Regions from separate parts of the Homo sapiens genome. Here regions 1, 2 and 3 are each linked to region 4. The links are contacts of gene promoters, found by promoter capture Hi-C in human tissues and cell types (Jung and others, 2019). All regions are on one chromosome and are shown on one strand. Each heading gives the region's core, a stretch centred on a gene start or on the middle of the fragment in contact. The rest is flanking DNA. Distances are from core to core; before and after follow the strand shown. Region 1 overlaps CATSPER3 (cation channel sperm associated 3). Region 2 has its middle 10 kb from the start of PITX1-AS1. Region 3 overlaps PCBD2 (pterin-4 alpha-carbinolamine dehydratase 2). Region 4 holds the start of CATSPER3 (cation channel sperm associated 3).

Region 1 (6,337 bases), core at 3,696-6,195, 36 kb after region 4:
CCATGCTGTTTTGGTTACTGCAGCCTTGTAGTTTGAAGTCAGGTAGCATGATGCCTCCAGCTTTGTTCTTTTGGCTTAGGATTGTCTTGGCAATGCGGGCTCTTTTTTGGTTCCATATGAACTTTAAAGTAGTTTTTTCCAATTCTCTGAAGAAAGTCATTGGTAGCTTGATGGGGATGGCATTGAATCTATAAATTACCTTGGGCAGTATGGCCATTTTCACGATATTGATTCTTCCTATCCATGAGCATGGAACATTCTTCCATTTGTTTGTATCCTCTTTTATTTCACTGGGCAGTGGTTTGTAGTTCTCCTTGAAGAAGTCCTTCACATCCCTTGTAAGTTGGATTTCTAGGTATTTATTCTCTTTGAAGCAATTGTGAATGGGAGTTCACTCATTATTTGGCTCTCTGTTTGTGTGTTATTGGTGTATAGGAATGCTTGTGATTTTTGCACATTGATTTTGTATCCTGAGACTTTGCTGAAGTTGCTTATCAGCTCAAGGAGATTTTGGGCTGAGACGATGGGGTTTTCTAAATATACAATCATGTCATCTGCAAACAGGGACAATTTGACTTCCTCTTTTCCTAATTGAATACTCTGTATTTCTTTCTCCTGCCTGATTGCCCTGGCCAGAACTTCCAACACTATGTTGAATAGGAGTGGTGAGAGAGGGCATCCCTGTCTTGTGCCAGTTTTCAAAGGGAATGCTTCCAGTTTTTGCGCATTCAGTATGGTATCGGCTGTGGATTTGTCATAAATAGCTCTTATTATTTTGAGATACGTCCCATCAGTACCTAATTTATTGAGAGTTTTTAGCATGAAGGGCTGTTGAATTTTGTCAAAGGCCTTTTCTACATCTGTTGAGATAATCACGTGGTTTTTGTCTTTGGTTCTGTTTATATGATGGATTACGTTTATTGATTTGCATATGTTGCGTCCCATAGGATGCAGCCTTGCATCCCAGGGATGAAGCCCACTTGATCATGGTGGATAAGCTTTTTGATGTGCTGCTGGATTCGGTTTGCCAGTATTTTATTGAGGATTTTTGCATTGATGTTCATCAGGGATATTGGTCTAAAATTCTCTTTTTTTGTTGTGTCTTTGCCAGGCTTTGGTATCAGGATGATGTTGGCCTCATAAAATGAGTTAGGGAGGATTCCCTCTTTTTCTATCAATTGGAATAGTTTCAGAAGGAATGGTACCAGCTCCTCCTTGTACCTCTGGTAGAATTTGGCTGTGAATCCATCTGGTCCTGGAGTTTTTTTGGTTGGTAGGCTATTAATTACTGCCTCAATTTCAGAGCCTGTTATTGGTCTATTCAGGGATTCAACTTCTTCCTGGTTTAGTCTTGGGAGGGTGTAGGTGTCCAGGAATTTATCCATTTCTTCTAGATTTTCTAGTTTATTTGTGTAGAGGTGTTCATAGTATTATCGGATGGTAGTTTGTATTTCTGTGGGATTGGTGGTGATAACCCCTTTATCATTTTTTATTGTGTCTATTTGATTCTTCTCTCTTTTCTTCTTTATTAGTCTTGCTAGTGGTCTATCAATTTTGTTGATCTTTTCAAAAAACCAGCTCCTGGATTCATTGATTTTTTTGAAGGGTTTCTTTTTGTCTCTCTATCTCCTTCAGTTCTTATCTGATCTTAGTTATTTCTTGCCTTCTGCTAGCTTTTGAATGTGTTTGCTCTTGCTTCTCTAGTTTTTTTAATTGTGATGTTAGGGTGTCAATTTTAGATCTTTCCTGCTTTCTCTTGTGGGCATTTAGAGCTATAAATTTCCCTGTACACACTGCTTTAAATGTGTCCCAGAGATTCTGGTATGCTGTGTCTTTGTTCTCCTTGTTTTCAAAGAACATCTTTATTTCTGCATTCATTTCGTTATGTAGTCATTCAGGAGCAGGTTATGTAGTCATTCAGGAGCAGGTTGTTCAGTTTCCATGTAGTTGAGCGGTTTTGAGTGAGTTTCTTAATCCTGAGTTCTAGTTTGATTGCACTGTGGTCTGAGAGACAGTTTGTTATAATTTCTGTTCTTTTACATTTGCTGAGGAGTGCTTTACTTCCAACTGTGTGGTCAATTTTGGAATAAGTGCGATGTGTTGCTGAGAAGAATGTATATTCTGTTGATTTTTGGTGGAGAGTTCTATAGATGTCTATTAGATCTGCTTGGCGCAGAGCTGAGTTCAATTCCTGGATATCCTTGTTAACTTTCTGTCTCATTGATCTGTCTAATATTGACAGTGGGGTGTTAAATATTGACAGTGGGGTGTTAAAGTCTCCCATTATTATTGTGTGGGAGTCTAAGTCTCTTTGTAGGTCTCTAAGGACTTGCTTTATGAATCTGGGTGCTCCTGTATTGGGTGCATATATATTTAGGATAGTTAGCTCTTCATGTTGAATTGATCCCTTTACCATTATGTAATGGCCTTCTTTGTCTCTTTTGATCTTTGTTGGTTTAAAGTCTGTTTTATCAGAGACTAGGATTGCAACCCCTGCCTTTTTTTGTTTTCCATTTGCTTGGTAGATTTTCCTCCATCCCTTTATTTTGAGCCTATGTGTGTCTCTGCACGTGAGATGGGTCTCCTGAATACAGCACACTGATGGGTCTTGACTCTTTATCCAATTTGCCAGTCTGTGTCTTTTAATTGGAGCATTGAGCCCATTTACATTTAAGGTTAATATTGTTATGTGTGAATTTGATCCTGTCATTATGATGTTAGCTGGTTATTTTGCTCGTTAGTTGATGCAGTTTCTTCCTAGCCTTGATGGTCTTTACAATTTGGCATGTTTTTGCAGTGGCTGTTACTGGTTGTTCCTTTCCATGTTTAGTGCTTCCTTCAGGAGCTCTTTTAGGGGAGGCCTGGTGGTGACAAAATCTCTCAGCATTTGCTTGTCTGTAAAGTATTTTATTTCTCCTTCACTTATGAAGCTTAGTTTGGCTGGATATGAAATTCTGGGTTGAAAATTCTTTTCTTTCAGAATGTTGAATATTGGCCCCCACTCTCTTCTGGCTTGTAGAATTTCTGCCGAGAGATCAGCTGTTAGTCTGATGGGCTTCCCTTTGTGGGTAACCCGACCTTTCTCTCTGGCTGCCCTTAACATTTTTTCCTTCATTTCAACTTTGGTGAATCTGACAATTATGAGTCTTGGAGTTGCTCTTCTCGAGGAGTATCTTTGTGGTGTTCTCTGTATTTCCTGAATTTGAGTGTTGGCCTGCCTTGCTAGGTTGGGGAAGTTCCCCTGGATAATATCCTGCAGAGTGTTTTCCAACTTGGTTCCATTCTCCCTGTCACTTTCAGGTACACCAATCAGACATAGGTTTGGTCTTTTCACATAGTCCCATATTTCTTGGAGGCTTTGTTCGTTTTACTCTTTTTTCTCTAAACTTCTCGCTTCATTTCATTCATTTGATCTTCAATCACTGATACCCTTTCTTCCAGTTGATTGAATCGGCTACTGAAGCTTGTGCATGCATCGCGTAGTTCTCGTACCATGGTTTTCAGCTCCGTCAGGTCATTTAAGGCCTTCTCTACACTGGTTATTCTAGTTAGCCATTTGTCTAATCTTTTTTCAAGGTTTTTAGCTTCTTTGTGATGGGTTCGAACATCCTCCTTTAGCTTGGAGAAGTTTGATCGTCTGAAGCCTTCTTCTCTCAACTCATCAAAGTCATTCTCCATCCAGCTTTGTTCCATTGCTGGTGAGGAGCTGCGTTCCTTTGGAGGGGGACAGGTGCTCTGATTTTTAGAATTTTCAGTTTTTCTGCTCTGGTTTCTCCCCATCTTTGTGGTTTTATCTACCTTTGGTCTTTGATGATGGTGACTTACAGATGGGGTTTTGGTGTGGATGTCCTTTCTGTTTGTTAGTTTTCCTTCTAACAGTCAGGACCCTCAGCTGCAGATCTGTTGGAGTTTGCTGGAGGTCCACTCCAGACCCTGTTTGCCTGGGTATCAGCAGTGGAGGCTGCAAAACAGCGAATATTGCATAACAGCAAAGGTTGCTGCCTGATTGTTTCTCTGGAAGCTTCATCTCAGAGGGGCACCCGGCCATGTGAGGTGTCAGTCTGCCCCTACTTGGGGGTGCTTCCCAGTTAGGCTACTCGGGGATCAGGGACCCACTTGAGGAGGCAGTCTGTCCATTCTGAGATCTCAAACTCCGTGCTGGGAGAACCACTGCTCTCTTCAAAGCTGTCAGACAGGGAAATTTAAGTCTGCAGAAGTTTCTGCTGCCTTTTGTTCAGCTATGCCCTGCCCTCAGAGGTGGAGTCTACAGAGGCAGGCAGGCCTCCTTGAGCTGCTGTGGGCTCCACTCAGTTTGAGCTTCCCAGCCGCTTTGTTTACCTACTCAAGCCTCAGCAATGGCAGGCGCCCATCCCGCAGCCTCGCTGCTGCCTTGCAGTTCAATCTCAGACTGCTGTGCTAGCAATAAGCAAGTCTCCGTGAGCATGGGACCCTCTTAGCCAGGTGCGGGATATTAATCTCCTGGTGTGCCATTTGCTAAGACTGTTGGAAAAGTGCAGTATTAGGTGGGAGTGACCCGATTTTCCAGGCGCCGTCTGTCACAGCTTCCCTTGGCTAGCAAAGGGAATTTCCTGATTCCTTGTGCTTCCTGGGTGAGGCGATGCCTCGCCCTGCTTCGGCTCTCACTCAGTGGGCTCCACCCACTGTCCTGCACCCGCTGTCCGACAAGCCCCAGTGAGATGAACTCAGTACCTCAGTTGGAAATGCAGAAATTACCCATCTTCTGCGTCACTCACACTGGGAGCTATAGACTGGAGTTGTTCTTATTCAGCCATCATCTCCTCCAGTATTTCGTCTTTTGGTAAAGAGGGGTCCCCCACCCGCATTCAGTTGCCAAGTCATAAATTTGACTGTCAGCTTAGACTCCTCTCTCAAGCTTTGTTGTGTGGCCTCCTCAGTGGTTATTGACTTGTCCACATCTCTTCATTCCTGTCACCATCAGCCTCACCTGGATTCCTGCATTGGCGTCCCACACTACTGGGAGCCCTGGAACAGAAATGCCCGTGTGGGGTGGGGAGGATCTTGAAAGTGCACATCCAATCATAGCATCCTAGGTTTCAAGCCTGAGGGTGGCTCCCCATTTTCAGGCTACAGACAGACCTTGCAGTGTGTCCTAAGAGGAAGGGAGTATGTAAGGTGCTGGGCACTGGAGTCAGCAGGGATGAGAGGAAGGCAGGTGGACGGGAAAGAAGACTGGAGGCCCGAGGTGTTCATGGTCAGATGGGCACCCCAGAGTGAGGGCGGGATCTGGCAGTGGGAAGTGTAATCTGGTTTTTCCAGGTGTTGGGCACCAAGGGAGCAGGGGCCAGGAGTGGCACCAGGGTCACTAGAGAGGGAAGTCCAGGGGTGAAGAGGCCTGGCATCTTCCATAAAGATGTGGAAGGTCCCCAGGCTGACAGCAGGGTTGCCTGGAGAAGGAGGTACTGAGTCTGGAGGCAGAGACTTCAAGACATGAGGGAGAGGGGGAAGCTGGAAGGTTGGCCCTGCCCAAAAGCAGGGTCTGTGCCTGTGAAAACAGGGGATCCCAGGATAAGGTAGATGGTGGCCCCCTGAATCTGAGGGCTGTCGGGGATAGGCAGCCTTCTTGGAGAGGGGAACTGGGTTGTGATGTCCTCTGCTGAGAGAGGACTTTCAGGTGAGGCCAGGAGAGAGGAACTGTGGAATGAGGGTGCCAGAGACCAGTGGGAATCATGCGAGGAACAGGGCGGAGGGCAGGGGGCTGAGGAAAAGGAGACCCAGGACCACACAGGGAGGAGGGAAGCAAAAAGGACTGGTGGCAGGGAGGGCTTCCATCTTGGAAGAAAGGGGCATTGACCCAGACTGGCACCTCAAGGCTGGGGGCACTTGCTGCTGGCTTAGTGCACCGTCTTGGCTGTATTGTGGCAGCCTGATTAGAAGGCAAAGGCTCCTGCTGGCCAAGGGCTGTATCCCAGAGCAAGCCGGCCTGCTTGGGGACTGCTCAGCCTTTGGCCCTTGCAGGCATGCACAGAGACCCTGGGCATGCAGAGGCAACAGGCACACACGCATGCACCACAGGTTTGGCCTCATGGTTTTTCTGTCATTAAGCAGGGCCTTGCATCCTAGAGTGATTCCCTGGGGATCACCAGCCACCCTGAGCTGTGGCTCTCCTGTAGCCTTGGGATGTCATGGGACCCTAGATCCCCAGAGGCACAGAAGTGACCCTGGATAACATGCCCTCTGAATGTTGGCTGGCCTGCTGGCCATGGGGAGCTGGACCTGCCCATGGTCGGGACTTGTACCTCTGGGCTAATTTCTATTAATTGAAGTCTAAAGGAATCCTTAAATAAAGAGCTACAAT
Region 2 (6,875 bases), core at 1,997-4,496, 55 kb after region 4:
GTTCGTGCTCTTAACCTCCATGATCTTGTCTCTGGCCCTCATTTCCCCACCACACCCGGAGGTAGGCTGGGCTGGGTGGGCTGAGGCAGGGTCTTCCTAGGCCTTGCTGGCCAGAGCAGGAGGCTGGTGAAAGCCCAGGACTTAAGGGACTTCAGAGGGGGACGTGGTTCCCTCTCACCCAAGGGGGAGCTCTTGACCTGCTGGAGGATCTGGGGCAGTGTAGCATCCCTGCTGGGGGCTTGGAAGTGCCACTACCCCCAAGGAAGCAAAGCAAGAGGCTTCCCTGGGGAACCTGTCTGGAGGGGAGGGAGGTTGGACATGTTGGTCAAGAAAGAGCGTCTTCACTCAGAAATCCTCCAGCAGTACGAGGTCAGTGAGATGAAAATGAGTAATTTTGTGCTTCTGAAGCAACAACCTACTTGACAGCAATATTTAATGGTCATATCCAGGGTCTTTTCAAACCCTGACAGGAAATCCCAAGAGGTAGGCAGGTGGGGCCAATGCCCGCTTGACAGAGGGTTACTGGGGTTCTGTGAGGTGACATCATGCCCTGGGAAGAGCCCAGCTCACGGGCTAGGATTTGGGCTTCTGGACTCCCCGAGGGGATCGTGCCCTCCTCCAGGCCCCTCCACCAGCCTGGGCTCAGTGGATATCCCTGCCTGGAGGGGCTGGGTGAGTCTCTGTGAGCCTGGGGGGCTGGGTGGGCTTCAGTTGCCCCACTGTGGGCTCTGGACTGTGGGAGAGTTGAGAGGCCTTGGTGGAGATAATGCCAAGCTTGGGAGAAGCCAGGGGTTCACCATGAATTGTGTGTGCCTGTACTCATTCCGGCCTTGGTGACAATAGGAATGCCAGCTTGGGGATGGAGGAAGGATCCTTGGCCACACCGTGCCTGGGGTGGGGTCTTTTGTGTAAGGGTATCCTTTATTGAGTTGCATTTACCCAGCGGGAGAGAGGTGTGCGTGTGTGTGTGTGCGCCTGTGTGGGCATGTGTGTGCACAAAGAGGCTGGAGTCTGGGTGGTGATGCGCATCCATCCCAGTGTGTCCTGGAAAGTTCCCAGATAGGCCACAGGAGGGAACGGTTTGGGGAAACCCTTGCTGGGCCCCGCCACAGCCTGGCAGGTGGTGAAGTGGCCAGCCACTTTGTGGCTACGATGCCTTAGAGAGTTTGCCAAGCACTTTCTGTGAAGTCATTGGGATGTTAAACCCTTGGTTCAATTAAATGGGTTAATAAGCATTGTCTGATTTTGATGAGGAATAATAATATAATGTGATAATAGCAATAATGGTGCTATTAGCTGCGATTATTACACGTGCTGCACTGTCCCAGGCATGGAGGGGGGGCGGCTTGCATTCCCGCATGCTCAGGCCGCATTTTCCACTCATAAAACCCCATTCTTCAAAGTCTTTCCAGCCCAACTCCCGATATCCATTTTCAGGACAAATTACCAACACTTAAAAAAAATTGGTCCATTTTGCGTGAAAGCCAAGTTCAAATTACTGTTACTTTCCCCTTTATGTTGGAAACTTAAAAAAGGATAGGGGTGGGAGCTGAGGGGGACACAGGGGACAGATACAGGAGGCGAGGCAGAGGAGGGGGAAAGAGAGAGAACGGTGTATGGATGAAGAAGAAAAAAGCGAGCCTTCTTGTTTCAGTAAAAATGTATTTCTGGAATGATGTTTCAGTTTACTCAGGCAGAAAAATTAGAAATGGTGTGCTTATTAAACAGGCTAAGTAAGCATGACTATTTTTAGTAGTGTAGTAAAACCTTGGTAATTTGGACCTCTTTAATAAAGATTCCATGATCATGGTGGCTGGCAGGCACACACTGTGTGTGTGTGTGTTGTGTGTGTGTCAGGGCAAGGTAGGGGTGCAGATCGGTTGCTGAGTTGGAGGCTGGGGAGCGGGGAGGGTGCAAGAAGGGACGGAAGGAAAAGGGAAGGACTCCCTCTTAGGAGAACCTGCTTCAAACACTGAACTCTTTTGCTTAGTAATCAAAGATCGTTATAAATTCTTCTCACTGAACACTTTTATTGGCACCTACTAGTATGACATCTGTTCAAAGAAGAATGTATTTGAAAACAAAAGTTTCATTTCTGTAAAAATCTGTAAAAGTTTACTTGATAGCTGTCATACTGGCCTCCCTCAAATGAGGCTGCATCCCAGGTAGGTGATGACTGGCACCTCAGTGGGAGGACAGGGGCAGTGGGCGGAAGGCTATTCCCTGTCCTGCGGGTCACAGGGTTTTGTATTTTTAAAATAATCATTATTTTATTTCATCATTGCAAAACTGATACATTGTCAGTGCAAAAAGACCTTGAAAGGAACAAATTTAAAAAATGCTCATTTTCCCCGTCAGAGGTAGGTGTTATTAACACTTTGTACATATCCATAAATTTCTCTGTGCATATATAAGAACAAAAATGGCACTGTGCTTAAGACTGTTTTGTTACTTGCCTTGTTTAGCTTTTTTGACAGAGAAGCTCGGTTAAGAAAAAGGGCAATAGTGAATCTATATTTAATTTTATGCCAAACTTACAAAGAAAAGTCATGCATCCCGGGTTGCTCTTTCTTGGCCACATAGTAGACGCTAGATAAAGGAAGTGTCCTTAATGGGGTCCCACTGCTATGCTGCATAGAAAGATGAAGAGTCAGGATGAGGGCCATGCAAGGGGTCAGCTATTGTTGGGGCCTCCAAGGGGCTGCTGGTCGAAGAGGATTCTAGGGAAAGGTTTGCCAAACAGTGAACACAGCCCCTGGGAGTCCTGGGAACCAGCCTCTAAATGCCTCTCTGGGTAACGAAGGGCATAAACACAGATATACTTTTGGAATAAAATTGAGGTAAAAATATACATAACATAAAATTTACCACTTTAACCTTTTAAGCTGTACAGTTCAATGGCATTAAGTACATTCACATTGTTATGCAACCATCACCACCATCCATCTCCAGAGCTTTTTCATCCTTCCTGAGACTCTGTACCCATTAAACAGTAGCTCCCCTTTTCCCATCCCTCAGCCCTTGGCAGCCACCATTCTATTTTCTATGATTTCACCTCTTCTAGGAACTTCATGTAAGTGTAATCACAATCTTTGTCCTTTCGTGACTGGCTTATTTCACTTATCACAATGTATTCAAGGTTCATCCATGTTGTAGTTGTGTCAGAATTTACTTTTTAAGGCTGAATAATATTCCACCATATGTATACACCACATTTTGTTTATCCATTCATCTGCTGATGGGCACTGGGGTTGCTACCACTTTTTGGCTATTGCGATAAACATGTTTTAGCTACTGCTGTGAACGTGGGTATGCAAATATCTCTCTGAGCCTCTGCTTTCATTTATTTTTGAGTATATACCCAGAAGAGAACTTACTGATCATATGGTAATTCCATGTTTAATTTTTTTGAGGAATCATCATACTGTTATTTTTTTGTTGTTGCTGTTTGTTTGTTTGTTTTTGACAGACTCTCACTCTGTTGCCCAGGCTGGAGTGCAGTGGCATGATCTTGGCTCACTGCAACCTCCAACTCCTGGGTTCAAGCGATTCTCCTGCCTCAGCCTCCTGAGTAGCTGGGACTACAAGCATGTGCCACCATGCCCAGCTAATTTTTTTGTAGTTTTAGTAGAGACAGGGTTTCACCATGTTGGTCAGGCTGGTCTCAAACTCCTGACCTCAAATGATCTGCCCACCCTGGCCTCCCAAAGTGTTGGGATTACAGGCGTGAGCCACCGCGCCTGGTCCATCGTACTGTTTTCTGTAGTGGCTGTTCCATTTTACATTCCCAGAAGCAATGCACAAGGGTCCCAATTTCTCCGCATCCTTGCCAACACTTGTTATTTTCTTTTTTGATAATAGTCATCCTGATGGGTGTGAGGCGCTATCTCATTGTGGTTTTGATTTGCATTTTCCTAATAACTAGCAATGTTGAGCCTCTTTTCATGTGCTTATTGGTCATTTGTATATCTTGTTTGGAGAAATGTCTATTCAAGCCCTTTGCCCATTTTTGAATTTGTTTTTTTTATTGTTCAGAAACACTTTTAAAAGCGGTGCCAAGAGCTGCCTGTGCTGAAAAGGAGTGAGCGAGTGAGTGGCAGAAGGGAAGATGCAAGAGAGAGGACACAAAGGAGTGCAGAGAGGGGGAAAGGGTCAAGATTTGTTTTGTGGAATGTGGGGGTGAGGGAGGGCCTTCCCTCAATTCTTTTTTTTTTTTTTTTCTTTTTTAGATGGCGTCTTGCACTGTCGCCCAGGCTGGAGTGCAGTGGCACTATCTTGGCTCACTGCAAGCTCCGCATCCCGGGTTCACGCCATTCTCCTGCCTCAGCCTGCTGAGTAGCTGGGACTACAGGCACCTGTGACCACACCCAGCTAATATTTTTTTTTTGTATTTTTAGTAGAGACGGAGTTTCACCGTGTTAGCCAGAATGGTCTCGATCTCCTGACCTCGTGATCCACCCGCCTCAGCCTCCTAAAGTGCCTCAATTCTTTTATTCAACAAATATTTATTGAGCATCTACTATGTGCAGACACTTCTGAGGGGTTGCTGTCTATACCTGTTTGACTCAGTTCACCATGCTGGCTGTCTGACTACACTGATCCTGTTCAGCTGCCAGGGCCAGCCTCTGGGAGGCAGTGCTTATAGTCACAGCCCATTGACTCTGCAGTCAGGCTAGGGATTGAGTCCCTAAAGTGGTGTGGTACAGCTTAGGACAGGTTACATGACCTCTTTGAGCTCCCCATTTCCCATTTATAAAATGAAGCTAATAAGAGAAATGAAACATGTCAAGTGCAGTGGGGGACAGCACAGAGTGAGACATATGCCTCAGCCAGCCACAGCAGCTTTCATCCCCTGTGAGGGCCAGCCTGCCCTCTGCCTCCTCCCTGCTCCACAAGCAGCTTCCTGCACCCTGACCTGCTCCTCAGCAGTGGTCTGATTCATGGAATTGCAGCCCCTCCAGCCAGGGCTCCAGTGGCCCTCTCTCGTGAGTGCTCTGCAGCTGCTTGACAGGTAGAGGTAGACACCTGCCCTGGGCAGTACCAGCCAGTCAGGAGGCAGGACCCAGGAACCTGCAAAAGCAACGTGGGAGTGTGAAGAGTGGGGTTCCCCTGATGGGAGAGGCAAGGAGGCAGGGACCAGCAGGGGCTGGGGGGGTGGCCTCAGGGTTGGGGGGGGTCTCCCCATCTCGGAAACAGGAAACTTGTAATCCGGACTGACGTGGGAGCTTGGATTTTGTGATTGAGAATTCAGGGCCCTTTCTTCACCAAAAAGCTGCTCTGTGCCTCTGTCTGCCCCTACCCCAGGGCTTCCTCTGTCCCTGATACCTGTACGCTTTGCTGCTGTCACATAGCCCGGAGCTTAGGAGGGCAAATCCTAGGGCCTGGGGCCTTTTCAGTCTCAGTCCTGGAGCCCAGCTGAGTCTAGCTTCTTGAAGAGAATTCTAATTTTTTATTTCCTTTCCCTCCTGAATACAAATGTGATTCATGTAAGGGTAATGTACAGCACAGTGGGTGCGAGCGCAGGCCCTGGTCAGAGGGTCTGAGTTCAGGTGCTGCCTCTACCCCTCATTAGCTGCCTGTGCCATGTTGGGCAAGTTACTGATTCCCTTTGAGCTTCAGTTTCTTCCCGTGAAAAATAAGGATAACAAATCCCTCCCTCATGAAATTGCTCTGAGGAGCTTGCTGGGGCCTGGCGCTCAGGAAGAGCCTGCTGTTAGCTACTCATAACATGATATGCAAACAAAAAGAAGTGTCCAGGCATCCTTGCCCCATGGTGCTGGGCGCCCCCAGAAGAGCATGCTGGGGTGAGTACCCCTGCTTCGCCCCCTGCCCCGCGTCCTGTCCCTGCTCATCTCTTAGGGTATTGACTGGGCTCTGCCTCTCCCCAGAGGCCAGGTAGGTGGCAGGAATTGGGTCTGGTTCCTCTCCCAGGGCCTGGCCCACAAAAGATTGGTGGGGAGATTGTACCACAGGACAATAGGCTGGGTGATCGAGGGCCCAGAATCTAGGATAGTTCCTGGGGTGGGGTGGGGGTGTGGCCAGGAAGACTGTCAATCATGACTCATATTCAGGACACCCTGCAGAGGTGGGGACGGAAAGCTGAGCTGGGAAAATCCCAAATGACGTCTAAAGTGACCTGTTGAGAAATTTTGACAGGTAAGTCCTAATAATGCAGAAAGCGGGGAATAGGACCTCAAGAGGAGAACCAGGGCATTTCACTTTAATAAAAGAATAGCAATACCAGCCTCACAGGGCTGCGTGCAGGTAAAGGGGCTCATGAATGAGGAGTGTACACTTAGCTTGGGGCTTGGGGCCTTGTGTTGGTTCAGTCAGCATTGGAGCTTGGTACTGAACATAGGGATGGAGCCACCTCCCCAGAAGGGCCTTGCCTGACCACCTGGTTTAAAGTGAGACCCCCTTTACTCTCACAGCATCCTGTTGTTTTTCAGCCTAGGTTGTAATTACACACGTCTATTTACTTGTCCAGCAGAGCGGGGGCTGCGTCTGTTTCCACTGCTCCATCCTAGCACTGACAGCAGGGGCACAGTCAATGTTGAATGAATGGCGGTCTCCTCCCCGTCTTCTTCAGGCAAAGCTGGCTAGGAATTCTGCCTTTTTTTTTTTTTTTCCAGAGGATTGGGCTTTCAGAGCCCCCTACAGTCTCTAGCCCCCTTCAGAGATGACCCTGCAGCCGGAGCAGCGGGGAAGGTCTGCATGCTGTAGTCTCTGCCAGCCACAGATGGGTGGGAACAGCTGGGAGGGGCCTGCAGCTGGGTCTTTCACTCACCTGCTTGGCCACAGTCCTTGATGGATGACGGGGTCATTCTGGGACTACTTCTGCCCTTCGACCCGTCTGCAGCTGTTTGGCCTGTGGC
Region 3 (6,721 bases), core at 3,518-6,017, 48 kb before region 4:
GGCCAGGCTGGTCTTGAATTCCTGACCTCAGGTGATCTGCCCGCCTCGGCCTACCAAAGTGTTGGGATTACAGGCATGAGCCACTGCACCCAGTTGACATCATCTTTTTGAAGGGAAATTGAGCAATGCCTATCAACTTTTAAAACTCACATACCAGAGCCGGGCGCGGTGGCTCACATCTGTAATCCCAGCACTTTGGGAAGCTGAGGTAGGTGGATCACGAAGTCAGGAGTTCGAGACCAGCCTGACCAACCTGGTGAAACCCTGTCTCTACCAAAAATACAAAAATTAACCAGGCGTGGTGGCGTGCGCCTGTAATCCCAGCTACTCAGGAGGCTGAGGGAGGAGAATCGCTTGAACCTGGGAGGCGGAGGTTGCAGTGAGCCGAGATCACACCATTTCACTCCAGCCTGGGTGACAAAGCGAGACTGTGTCTCAAAAAAAGAAAAAAAAGGACATATCCATTGTCCTAACCTAGAAATTTATCTTCTAAATATTGTTCTGCATGTATGCAAATAGGATGTATGGGGATGTCTATTAAAGCCTGATGGGCCTCTAATTTTTTTTTTTTTTTTTTTTTTTTTTTTGAGACAGGGTCTAATTCTGTTGCCCAGGCTGGAGTGCAGTGGTGTGGTCATGACTCACTGCAGCCTTGAACTCCCTGGGCTCAGGCGATCATCCCACCTCAGCCTCCTGAGTAGCTGGTACTACAGGTGTGTGCCACCATGCCTGGCTAATTTTTGAATTTTTTTTTGCAGAAAGGGGGTTTCTCCATGTTGCCCAGGCTGGTCTTGAACTCCTGGGCTCAAGTGATCCTCCTGCCTCAGCCTCTCAAAGTATTGGGGTTATAGGCATGAGCCGCTGCACCAGGCCTCTAATTTTTTATTGTGAGCAGCCATTTCCATGAGCATATGCACACCATGGTGAGAACATATCTCCCTTGCTGCAACCCTGCCCTCAGTGGGGTTTAAGGGAGGCCTGTTGTGCTCCATATACTCATAGCAATGGCAGCACCTCTCCTGGCCTGAGCTCTACAGACTGGACAAAGCCACAGTCAGAACTAAAGACACCCTCTCCCTGAAAGAGTGTGACCCACACTTGGTGGTGTCATATTGGAAAAAAATTTGGGGGCCAGGCACGATGGCTCACGCCTGTAATCCCAGAACTCTGGGAGGCCGAGTTGAGTGGGTTGCTTGAGCCAAGGAGTTTGAGGCTAGCCTGGGCAACACAAGGAGACTCCATCTCTACAAAAATAAAAATTAGCCAAGAGTGGTGGCATGCACCTGTGGTCTCAGTTACATGGGAGGGAGGCTAGGGTTGGAGAATCATTTGAACCCAGGAGGTAGAGGCTGCAGTGAGCTGTGATTGCACTACCACACTCCAGGCTGAGCGAAAGTGTGAGACTATCTCAAAAAAAAAATCTTTGCTGAATATAGGGTTAAAAAATTCATTTTGTTTGTATTGCTCAATAGGTTATGAGCATTTTTCAGTTCTTTAGTCTTTTTATTTTTAATACAATTTTCAGGAGTATGATTTTACTTGGTTGGGTGTCACAGTTAAATGATTTGCTAATGTAGTTTGTGTACAGTGGTATCACAAGTTTGCTTTAGTCTTCATTTCTTTTGCTGCTATGAAAAATGAACTATTTTGGAAATATTTCAGTGACCGTGGATGAAAAACCTATTTCTTGAAGCTTTGAGTTATTCCAGGTTTACTATAAGAATAAATAGCCCCCAAAACACATTTGAACTTCTTTTCTCTCAGAGTTTTATTCTAAGGTATGGTTAGTTCCAAATAATCCAAATTCATTGGATAGCTCAGATGGATACAAATACTTGGAGATTATAAGTACGGAGTTTTCAAGGGATTCTCCTAGCATAGGTGGATGAAGTAGCCATAGGTGTCAGTTGCTGTTAGCCTCCTGTTTCCACCCTTGGTGGTGGTACATGGGCTCTGCAGTGCGTCAATGGACAGTATGTTGGTGACAGACAGTGACTCTGTGAGCAGACAGAGCATGGCAGTGGTGGGACTCGAGGCAGGGAGTTTCCACACTAGGAGTGCTTGGACCCAGACAGGGTGGGATTGGCATTTGTAAAGGAACTTTGCTTTTTTGTTGTTCCTGTAGACAGAAGGTGGGAGAGGTCTGCAAGTGACATATAAACTTAGGTGTTTGGTAACTGCAGGATGTCTGTGTTGAAAGAACAAAATGTCAGGTAGAAATGTGGGTGTGAGAGTCCCATAAAGACAGATTTTGTTATGCATTGACATGTATGGGATGAACTGGAAGCTTACAAAATCCGAGGAGATTTTAAGTTTAAAAGTAGGTGCAGAAGGTGAGGCTTTGGAACCTAGGAAATAGCTACTACAGGTGCCAGCAGGTGGAGCCCTCCAGGGCAGGAGCCCAGCCGGGCCAGGCGGCAACACCCCTTTCTGCCCCCCAGAAGGCTGTCCCTGTTCTTTCACTTCTGAATACCTGGGGCTACCCTTGTTCAGCATGGAAATAAGCTCAGGATCAGGAACAGGTAAGCGGCAGTGGCTGGGCGCTTGGGTGAATGATAAATTTTGTGTGTAGGACATGAGGAGTTTCCAATGGTGATTCAGGAGGAAGGGACCAAGCTTTGTGAGAATCAGCGGTGGTTCTCTGCGGAGGAGCTCCTGGGCCCTGTCTGTGCTTTCTTCGGTGGGCCTGCCCAGCAGGGCATTCAGTCATATTGGATGGAATCATATGAGCTGGTTGATATTCAGGGCAAAGTCCAAGCTTTATTGGTTTTGTATCTTGTTCATCACCCTCACCTTTTGGTTGCTGTGCTGCTGCCACTGAAGCTTTCTGGAGCTGCAGCGGGAGGGAGGAGGAGTTCTCTGGGTGCCCAGGCTGGGTTGGTGGTGCTCTGCACATCCTAGCAGCAGTAGCACCATATGTGACTTTGGGGTTCGTAAAATGTTTCTTTTCCTGTGTCCACAGAGACTCCTGTGTAGAGCAGTTCAAAGTTACTTTTGCTGCCTTACTTTATAAAAATGTTTTATTGAGGAATTTGATAATAGGCTTATGGTGAACATTTTGAAACACTTAGTGAAGTCAAAGGCTTGATGATACCAGAAGAAAGACAACTGCTGATGAAAGTCTTAACAATCCTCCACAGAATATTGGTGGAAGTCTCGATAGCTCTCATTGTGAATGAATTAGTTTGGGTTTGATTGTTCTTTGTTGTGCACATCAAAGTTATGAGTGAGTAATGCATCTGTGCACTCTTTAAAGAGGATATTCTACCTGTGGAGGATAGGGAAGCACTCCCAAAGAGGATGCCTGTGGCCTGGGCATCATATAGGTTAGAAAATGTCATTTTGTGCTGGGCATGGTGGCTCACACCTGTAATCCCAGCACTTTGGGAGGCCGAAGCAGGCGGGTCACCAGAGGTCAGGAGTTCGACACCAGCCTGGCCAAAATGGCGAAACCCCTTCTCTACTAAAAATACAAAAATCAGCTGGGCGTGGTAGAAGGTGCCTGTAATACCAGCTACTTGGGAGGCTGAGGCAGGAGAATGGCTTGAACCCGGGAGGCGGAGGTTGCAGTGAGCAGAGATCACGGCACTGCACTCCAGCCTGGGCGACAGAGTACTCCATCTCAAAAAATAAAATAAAATAAAAATTAAAAAATGTCGTTTTGATTTGAAAGTATAAGCTAGTGTTTGTGTGTCTGGCACCAGGTAAAGTGAAAACTCGTATGGCTGTCACACACACTGTTGCATTTAACATGTGCTCATGATTGGCTTTGTAACCACAGCAGACTAGAAACCTGAGAAAGTGTTCATAGTTTTCATTGGAATAGAATAGAGACACTCATATTTTAGCAAACTTTACCTAAAGTGTGAGAAGCTAGTAAAAATATCTGTGTAGTGTTCATGTTGGTGTTCCCTTTGGAGTTCTTCCTGAGCAGGACCACGCTGATGCTCCCAGGAGGTGGCTAGAATGTCAGTGTTGGCGTCCACCAGGGTAGGGAAATAAGAGCCTGAAATGTTATCATTTGGAGCTTTGTTGCTGCTGATTGTGTCGTACAGTAGGTCTAGACCTGGCGTGTATTTGTAAAAGCGCATGCAACAGATAGATGAGGAGAAATGTAAAACAGGTGTCAACAATGCAAATATGACACCACACTGCAGTGTGAAAACACCATGGTCCTTACACCACCCTTTAATAAAAATGGACTTTTAACTGCATAATTTGCTCTTAGTCATGTAGTAAATCTTCTGTTTACAGAACTTAGCCTGAGTATTTTGTTAAAGTCAAGCAGCCAAGAAGTATAATTTCCTCAACAGTCTTTGTCTTGCCCTTTTACAGATGGAGTAAAATCAGGTGTGTAAAAAATAAAAAAGCAGTTTGAGCTGACGTGAAAGGTATTTCAGATTTATGCTTTGCAGATGATATTGGTATGATTAATGCATTCATTGCTTTTTTTTATTGCTTTTCACAGATAATGTACATGATGCATGGAAAATGTTGTGGGTTTAAATCTGTGCCAGGTTTAGACTGTGAATATCAACAGATGTTATCATATAAGTACCATAATTATTATAAAATAAAAAATTTGTCATGAAATGCAGTGACATAAATTTCATTTATGTAAATTGCTTTCATTAGTATAAAACCTTAGTGTAGCTGTTAGGGTCTGTGAAGCACTTTAGATGAGATTAACTTGGTATAAAGTGGTCACAAATGGGTTGCTTTAAATTTAACTGACAAGAAAATAACACCCAAAACTTAGGAAATTGCTGAGGCATTTGCCTGCATTGCTGGTACCGCTTAAATAGGTTGACTGTGAATTAATAACAATAGACTGCTGGCTCAATAATTGCAGAAAATAATTGAAAGGAGACCTTAAATAATAACTTAAAAGTATTTTGGTCTTGCTCATTTCTGTTCTGTTTCTGTTTTTCGTTAGTATGCCTGCCCACCGCTTCAGTACTGCCATTATCAATAGCTTTCGGGTTTGCACTGCAGTTTTGTCCATAGTTGTGGTGCTTTAGGGCCATGACACAGAACTTGCATTTAGATGTGTCAGAATACAAATATTGGGTGCCTGATGGAGCAGCTGTAGTGGCTGAGCAGTGCTGCACTCACATTCCTGTGGCTGGGTAGCGGCCAGTTGCTTTCTGCCCTCAGGAGGGATTCGGTCCAGCGGTGTGGGCAGGTGGCTGAGGTTCTTCTTCCTGGCTTTGAGCTCTCCATGTTTTGCTCTTTTTCTTACATCCTTTTAAACAAAACAAAGCAGTAATATTCTCTCCCCTGTGTTGCAGAGAATTACTATTATGTTGCGCTTTTGATCTAGGTTAGAGTGGGGCATTCTGACTCATTTACTGAATTTCGCAGAAAGACACTAAACAAGATTGAGATCATGGAATTACTTGTGGTCATACTGGGTCATGTCACAGTTACCAGATGCAAGACTCACATCCCTGGTTCCCACAGCAACATTTTTAGATCCTACTGTGACATAGAAAGGTTGTTTTTTTGATTTTGTTGTTTTAGGCGAGATCTTGTTTTCCAAGGACTACTTGCTGGATTAGTTTTCTCCCTTAAATGGGTTTTACCATACTTCCCAGAGGAAGGGAATATTCGCCAGCTGAAACAAACAAAGCTGTACTTGTTTGGGAGTAGCCCAGGTATCACTGTTGAGCAATCAAAGGTCATTTAATTGTATCATTAAAATCAATCCTATCAAAACAGCAAATGCTGCTAATGACTCTGTTTGCTTGTGTGCTCTCTGCCAACAGGGCAGGATGGAGGCTTTTTTTTTTTTTTGAGACGGAGTCTCGCTCTGTCGGCTAGGCTGGAGTGCAATGGTGTGATCTTGGCTCACTGCAACCTCCACCTCCTAGGTTCAAGCGATTCTCCCACCTCAGCCTCTCAAGTAGCTGGGATTAGAGGCACCTGCCACCAAGCCTGGCTAATTTTTTGTATTTTTAGTAGAGATGGTGTTTCACCAACATGGCCAACATGGCCAGGCTGTACTTGAACTCCTGAGCTCAAGTGATCCGCCCGCCTTGGCCTCCCAAAGTGTTGGGAATACAGGCGTTGAGCCCAGCTGCTGAGGCTTTTTGCTATATCATACATCAAACTGACTTCAAGTGCCCTGTCCTCGCCATCGCAGCCCTGTCGGTGGACATGCACCAGGTGGGTGGAGCAGCCCCAGGCTGGCTGGGCCAGGAGTCACATGGTGTGGTTCTGTCAGGATTCGTGAACCCAGCAGAGCTGTTGGGCTTATATCCACTGAGGGGCTAGTGCTGGTCTGGATCCAAGAGGTGGAAGGAGGAAGATGCAACAGAAGGACCTGGTTTCGTTTCTGCCCAGAAGATCTCCTAGTTTTGCTGGGGAGGTGGCACATCTGAATTGTACAAGGTGATTGATTTTTTTCAGCTTACCATGTTAGTCAGGTACTAGAATGTGAAGTGCTGTGCTAATAAGCCACAGGAGGTGCACTTCAGGGTGGCTGCTGCCTGGAGAAGGGGAGTTTTGAGTTGGTTCTTGAAGATCTGGTATGTGGTTGTAAGGGAAGGCACTAAGGGAGGGGTTAGCAGGTGACATAGGTCTAGGACAGGGAGTAAGAGGACATACTTTGTCTGCAGTGTGTTGGGAAATAAGGGCCCTAAAATGGGTTCAGTGAGCTGGGCCACAGAGTACAGGGGGGTTCCTGTGGCGTACTCTCCTGGGGTAGCTTTCCCACCAG
Region 4 (6,470 bases), core at 3,886-6,385:
CTCACCAAGTCATTATTTGACTTACTGAGTTAAGGAGGAACTAAGGGTCATTTTCCCCCCATCATTTGCATGTTTTGACTCCTGAACTGAGGGTCTACGGCCACTGAAGCTAGAAGCTAGAAGGGTGTTAATCAGTAGTGAGCTCTACTTACTCCATGTGTCACTGACAGATGTAAAAAGGAATATCAAGTAATCTATTATTTAAAAATTGTAATAAGAGTGTTTTTTGAAGGAATTCAGGAATGTACTACTAACGAGATTATGATGCAGGTATATCCATCCATGAAGCATTTGTTAGTCCCTTGAAGCATCATGGTAGTGGAATTTAACATGGATCATCTTTGTAAACCCACCTCTCTTTAGGGGCCAGAGAAATCACTGTTTGTTACAACAAGCAAACCTTTCCCTCTCCATGTCACCCTTGCCCCAAACCTGAGAAACATATGGGAACATGGCACAGAGGCTGAGCTCTCTGAAGCCAGTTCCTGGCTGGTTTTGCTGGCCAGGGAGAGGCAGGTGTGGTCAGTTGCCCTGTGGACATGTGGTGTGCAGGGAGAGAAGAGGGAAAAGAGCCACTCAGGCTCTCTGGCTGCCAGGGGATCCAGACTCTTAGCACTAGAACTTCTGTTTCTTAGAATTCTTCCCAAGGAAAAGACAAAACTGTGTTTTTATAAGCTGGTTTCCTATAGTGTAGATTTGGGACTTTTATACATTTTATTACCAAATATTTTTAGTTAAGTGCTTCAATTTTCAACATTAATTCTTTAAAATTTTCTTTTGAGAATCATCACCTGGATTTACATGAATTTTTTAAGCATGAAAAAATTTAAACATATTCAAAAGTACATGAATAGTACATTGAAGCCTTATATACATATCACCCAGATATAAAAATTACCAAGATTTTGTCCCAGTTGCTTCATTTTCCCTGTTTCCTTCTTTGCTAAAGTATTTAAAAGCAAATCCCAGATAGCTTATCATTTCACCCCTATATCCTTCAGTAAGTTTCTATGGAAAATATGGCCATTTTCTTGTATAAACCACAGTACCTCTGTTTTTTTTTTTTGAGATAGAGTCTCACACTGTCGCCCAGGCTGGAGTGCAATGGCGTGATCTTGGCTCACTGCAACCTCTGCCTCCCAGGTTCAGGCGATTCTCCTGCCTCAGCCCCCCGGGTAGCTGGGATTACAGGTGTGCGCCACCATGCCCAGCTAATTTTTTTTTGTATCTTCAGTAGAGATGGGGTTTCACCATGTTGGCCAGGCTGGTCTCGAGCTCCTGACCTCGTGATCGCCCGCTTAGGCCTCCCAAAGTGCTGGGATTATAGGCATAAGCCACAGCGCCCGGCCCACAGTACCATTTTTATACCTAACAAAGTGATTCCTTGGTACACTTAATACCTAGGCAAAATCAAATTGTCCTGAAGGTCATGAATGTCCTTGGACAGTAATCTGGTTCTAATCGAGGATCTATATGAAGCCCACCAATCGCATCTGGTTGTTGTGTCTCTTTAGTCTGTCAGTCTGGAGCAAGCTCCCCTCCCTTCCTCAGTTCCCCATGTTATTTATTTATTGTAAAAACTGGGTCAGTTGTGCTGTAGAATATTCTGCTTTCTGGATTTGTTTGTTTCTTCCTGTGGTGTCATTTAACTTGTTTTACTATACCCTAAACGGAACCCTTTTCCTCTGTTTTCAGCAGAAGTCTGAGAGGCTAAACTTGATGGCTGTGTTAACATATGTCACGTGTAGCACAGTGGAGAAAGCAGGATATGGCTCATAATGACAGTGGTGAAGACCTGCGAATGAAGTTGCTAGTTATCACCTACATTAGGGTTTGACATAGGTCTATGTTATGGGTCGCTGCATCTGCTGGAACTCACAGACTTTACTATAGAGAATCAAAGATCCCGTATCCGAAGTCTATGGAAATGCTCATGGTGGTAAATTCCAACAGAATGAAACACCAAACTTGCTTAAAGTAACTCACGTTTCAATTTGAAAGAGATATTGTCAAAATTGGAGGCCCCCAGGTTCCTGTCTGTTCCAAATCTTTGCATGATGACAGTGGTTTCTCTGATGTGGTAAGCTTTGGCTTTCTTCTGTTTTCTTTCTAAAAGATCACTGGAGTAGAGAGGAGTTAAACAGACATGACCTTTGACCTCTTGCATGACCTCCACAGATAGCAAACCGGGCCGACACATGGTTGACGATGTCCTTTTCTACAATGAAGTTAATGAAAGTTCTGAAAATAGTGATTACTTTCTGACATTGATAGGATTTAGGAAACCTCTGGATAAATAGCTTAAGCATGGCTGTTTATGTTTTTGCTATAGACAAAAAGCAGCAGCATGTACATTGTATTTGGACACAAGCCTGCCTCGGTTAATATATTGAACTATTGGACCACTAGGGTTAGTAGGGAGCGGTCTGTACACTTTCTGATTCAGCATTCAGAAACATTCTAGGTGGACTCTGTAGCTTTCAGTTTTGTAAAGTTATCAGAAAAACATCGGGAGGGTTTGGCCATCATATGTGAGCTTTGTGTTTCAATGCCAGTTACTCAGGATTAGTAAATTAATGACTGTCCAGAGGACTTCAGGGTCACCAAGCTGCTGCACCTGCCATTGGCTGACTCTCCCCGGCTATCTGTGGCTGAGATGGTGCTGCTTAGGTCACGCAGAGCATGAGCTGCTGCTGAAAGGGCACAGGAGATGGCCCTTGGGCTTCTCATCCCAGGATGCCTGCCCTGCCCACCAATCCATGAGAAGATATGTATGATTTCAGTAGGCCCTGGATCAGCTTGTCACCTCTGGTTTCCTGTTTGCTTTCCACTCACTCAGCTGGAGTTTCATTTCCAGACTAAAGTCTTCATCATTGGCTTCAGAAACAGCATTCATCTGTGGCTGTGCTGATGTAGTACACCAAGAACAACTGGGCTCTTCTCTGTCACTTTCAGTGGGCTACCTTCCCTCACCTCTCCAAGCAGCATGAAAGAATTCTTTACATTTTTAATCTCTTTTTTGTTTTTCCCTGAAAGTATGCTTTGGTGCTTAAAGAGAGAAGTCACAAAAGTATACTACTGAGTTTCCTGGAGATGAAATCCTGTTGTCCCTAGCTATGTGAATGAGCACAGGGATCCCTGATGCCATTATTTTGTATATTCATACGGCACACACTTACTGAGGGCCTTCTGTGTGCCCTAGGGGATTGAGCACAGTGACATATCAGGGCAGGTAGAAACAGATGGAGAGCTGATGCGGGCTGTCTTAGAGCAGCTGCCCCAGGAGGCCCCTGTGGATGGATGTTGGGCAGGAGCCCTGAGACGTTAGGGGCATATAACTAAAGGACATAGCAGGAGTTATAGGAGGAGCTGATCCCTGAGGGAAACAATGAAGACGGAGAAGATGGGGCTAAAGTTTGAATTGTGGGGACATTAATCACAGTGATTCTTAAAACTTTGCTGTTGATGATTTTAAATGGAGAAAATGAGTACGTAAGATGTTATTTCCCAGTTCAGTATATTGGTTGCCCACAAAGTATTTTCCTACCATGAATGGTCATATATACTTGTTGTAGAATACCAGGGACAGCAGAGATGGTGGGGTAGTTACTTCCTTTTCTTACAGCCCAAGAACTTTGGTGTCCAGGAGATTGACCAATTTAGCCACTGAGCATTTAATACAACACAGGGCTACCCAGATCCCACTGTCCTGATTTGCCCTGAAAGCCAAAGGAGTTAGGAGAAGGTGAGTGGGGAGAATATATTAATCCTGAGAGTTGAACAGAGCAAAAATCCCTATTACTTTTGTACTTAAAACATCTCTGCCACATGTGCTCACTCTTTATATTCTGTTTAGGTGGTTTATATGTGCACATCCCATCCTATGCCTGCAGTTAGCCAACTCAGGGTTTATATTGCCTCCTTTCTTTTTTTCTTTTTTTTTTTTTTTTTAAGAGATGGGGTCTCATTCTATCATGCAGACTGGAGTGCAGTGGTGTGATCACAGCTCATTGTAACCTCCAACGCCTGGACTAAAGTGATCCTCCTACCTTGGCCTCTCTGGTAGCTGGGACTACAGGTGCATGCCACCACACCCACCTAATTTTTTTTATTTTTATTTTTTGTAGAGACAGTCTCACTATCTTGCTCAGGCTAGTCCTGAACTCCTGGGCTCAAGTTATCTTGCTGCCTCAGCCTCCCATGGGTAATTTTTATTTCCTTTTTTTTTTTTTTTGGAGATGGAGTTTCGCTCTTGTCGCCCAGGCTGGAGTGCAATGGCACGATCTTGGCTCACTGCAGTCTCCACCTCCTGGGTTCAAGTGATTCTCCATCCTCAGCCTCCTGAGTAGCTGAGATTACAGGCAACTGCCACCATGCGCGGCTAATTTATGTATTTTTTTTTAGTAAGAGATGGGGTTTCACCATGTTGGCCAGACTAGTCTTAAACTCCTGACCTCAAGCGACCTGCCTGCCTTGGCCTCCCAAAGTGCTGGGATTACAGGCATGAGCCGCTATGCCTCGTCGCTGATTTTTATTTCTTATTTTTTTTTTAGAGATGGGGGTCTCACTATGTTGCTCAGGCTGATCTCAAACTCCTGGCCTCAAGTGATCCTCCCACCTTAGCCTCCCAAGTTGCTGGGATTATAAGTGTGAGCCACTATCCCTACCTCACTATTACCTTCTTTGCTTCTCTTGTTTTCTTTTGTTCTAAGTCAAACCCATCACAATCTTTTCTTGTCCTTCCAGGTGTTTTCCAGTGCTGTGCCCTGGATGTGCTCTCTTTCTCTTAGAGCCCAGAGAACTTGCTTTTCCCCCTTATATATGACCCTTAACTTTTTCTAACACATTATTAAGGGCCTGTGTCTATCAGCTGGGGGCACTTCTTGAAGGGAGGGCCTTTGTGTGGTCTGTTTCTAGTGACTTCCAGCTTTAACCCAGAGCCTCATGATTGCTGGGTGCCCATAGCCTTTTTGCTGAATGGAGGCACTCAGTCTCCTTGGGAAGAGAGAATCCATGATAGACCCACTTGGGAGCTCCCCACTTCAGGGGCCTACACACTGGTAATGCAACAGAATGCCCAAGAGTGACCTCATAAAGCAAGGATTCCCTTCGTGGCCCCTTCTCTGCTGCCTCTCAGAATCCAGACGCTAAGGAAAATCCCTAAGCAGAGATTTTCTGTTGGATGCTAAAAGCAAGGAATAAAAGTTGAAAATTTGGAAAATGTCTCAACACCGTCACCAGCGCCACTCGAGAGTCATTTCTAGTTCACCAGTTGACACTACATCGGTGGGATTTTGCCCAACATTCAAGAAATTTAAGTAAATATTATCTATCTCCATTGCCTGTTAAGAAATGTGCTAGTAGAAGTGTGAGGGCAGGGTGTCAGTGTTCTCTCAGCCTCTTCCCTCAGATACTCGTCTGCTTACCAAAATAAGTTGCATGTCCTTGACAATCTGGTTTCTATGATTGGTGAGGCTGGCATGCTATTACCTTTATGTGCCCTGTAGACTTGAATGACCAGTTTGACCAGTTTGACTGTTAGATAATCTGAAGGCTTTTCTCTTTTTTTATAATAGACCCCATCTCAAATCAGATAATGAAAATTACATATCTTGATATATTAGAAAAGTATATACATTCTGGCTGGGCACGGTGGCTCACACCTGTAATCCCTGCACTTTGAGAGGCTGGGGCGGATCACTTGAGGTCAGGAGTTTGAGACCAGCCTGGCCAACGTGGCGAAACCCCATCTCTACTAAAAATACACAGATTAGCCCGGAGTGATGGTGTGCACCTGTTGTCCCAGCTACTCAGGATGCTGAGGCAGGAGAATCCCTTTAACCTGGGGGGCGAAGGTTGCAGTGAGCCAAGATTGCACCACTGCACTCCAGCCTGGGTGACAGAACGAGACTCTGTCTCAGAAAAAAAAAAAAAGAAAAGGAAAAAGAAAAATATATATTCTATATTTTTTTAACTTATGAGAATGTGTTCATTTCATTTGTAACATATAATGGGAAACAGTAATACGTACTCTGAGAAAAATTGCAAAGCACAGATAAATGGAAATAAACAGGAAAAAGAATCACCTATAACCTCACCATCCATAGACAGACACTGTTAAAATTTTGGCATATTTCCTGCTGATTTTTTCTACTGCTGATTTTTGCACAGGTGAGATAATTTTGAACAGAGAATTTTGTATCTTTGGTTTTTGTGTTTTGCTGCACACAAAAACAAAAGATATAAAAATGGATCATAAACATTTTTCTAAATCCTGAAAAATGCATAGACATATTTTAGTGCCTGTATTTCACAAGATGGACATACCATAATTTACTTACACAGTCCTTTTTGTTAGATGTTTAAGTTGTTTTCAAGCTTCTCAGTGCTGGAAAAAATACTGAGATAGACATGTTTAGTTGAAGTTATTTCATTTCAGGTTATATTATCTTGGGTCAGAGAATGAATGG

What was found. The method cuts DNA at HindIII sites, captures the fragments that hold promoters and counts their contacts. A contact is called where the count stands out against the background at its distance.
Region 1: a fragment that was not itself captured here is called in contact with the fragment with the promoter of CATSPER3 in region 4 in 2 of the 25 tissues and cell types used here (mesenchymal stem cells and psoas muscle).
Region 2: a contact is called between a fragment that was not itself captured here and the fragment with the promoter of CATSPER3 in region 4, in 1 of the 25 tissues and cell types used here (IMR-90 fibroblasts).
Region 3: a fragment that was not itself captured here is called in contact with the fragment with the promoter of CATSPER3 in region 4 in 1 of the 25 tissues and cell types used here (mesenchymal stem cells).

What each region holds. Positions count from the first base shown.
Region 1 is chr5:134,999,294-135,005,630 of GRCh38, forward strand. All of the region lies in intron 3 of CATSPER3 (cation channel sperm associated 3), which reads left to right. Among named protein-coding and RNA genes, the nearest start is that of PITX1-AS1, 31 kb to the right of the region's middle. The HindIII fragment of the contact is 5,962 bases long and covers 1,965-6,337 here.
Region 2 is chr5:135,019,347-135,026,221 of GRCh38, forward strand. No RefSeq gene overlaps it. Among named protein-coding and RNA genes, the nearest start is that of PITX1-AS1, 10 kb to the right of the region's middle. RefSeq lists an enhancer at 5,589-6,788 and a silencer at 5,749-6,208. The HindIII fragment of the contact is 6,135 bases long and covers 180-6,314 here.
Region 3 is chr5:134,914,878-134,921,598 of GRCh38, forward strand. All of the region lies in intron 2 of PCBD2 (pterin-4 alpha-carbinolamine dehydratase 2), which reads left to right. Among named protein-coding and RNA genes, the nearest start is that of PCBD2, 13 kb to the left of the region's middle. The HindIII fragment of the contact is 4,633 bases long and covers 2,452-6,721 here.
Region 4 is chr5:134,962,772-134,969,241 of GRCh38, forward strand. It overlaps CATSPER3 (cation channel sperm associated 3), which reads left to right and starts at 5,136. Exons shown (of 8, transcript NM_178019.3): 1 at 5,136-5,318. The coding sequence starts at 5,221. The HindIII fragment of the contact is 15,471 bases long and covers 1-6,470 here.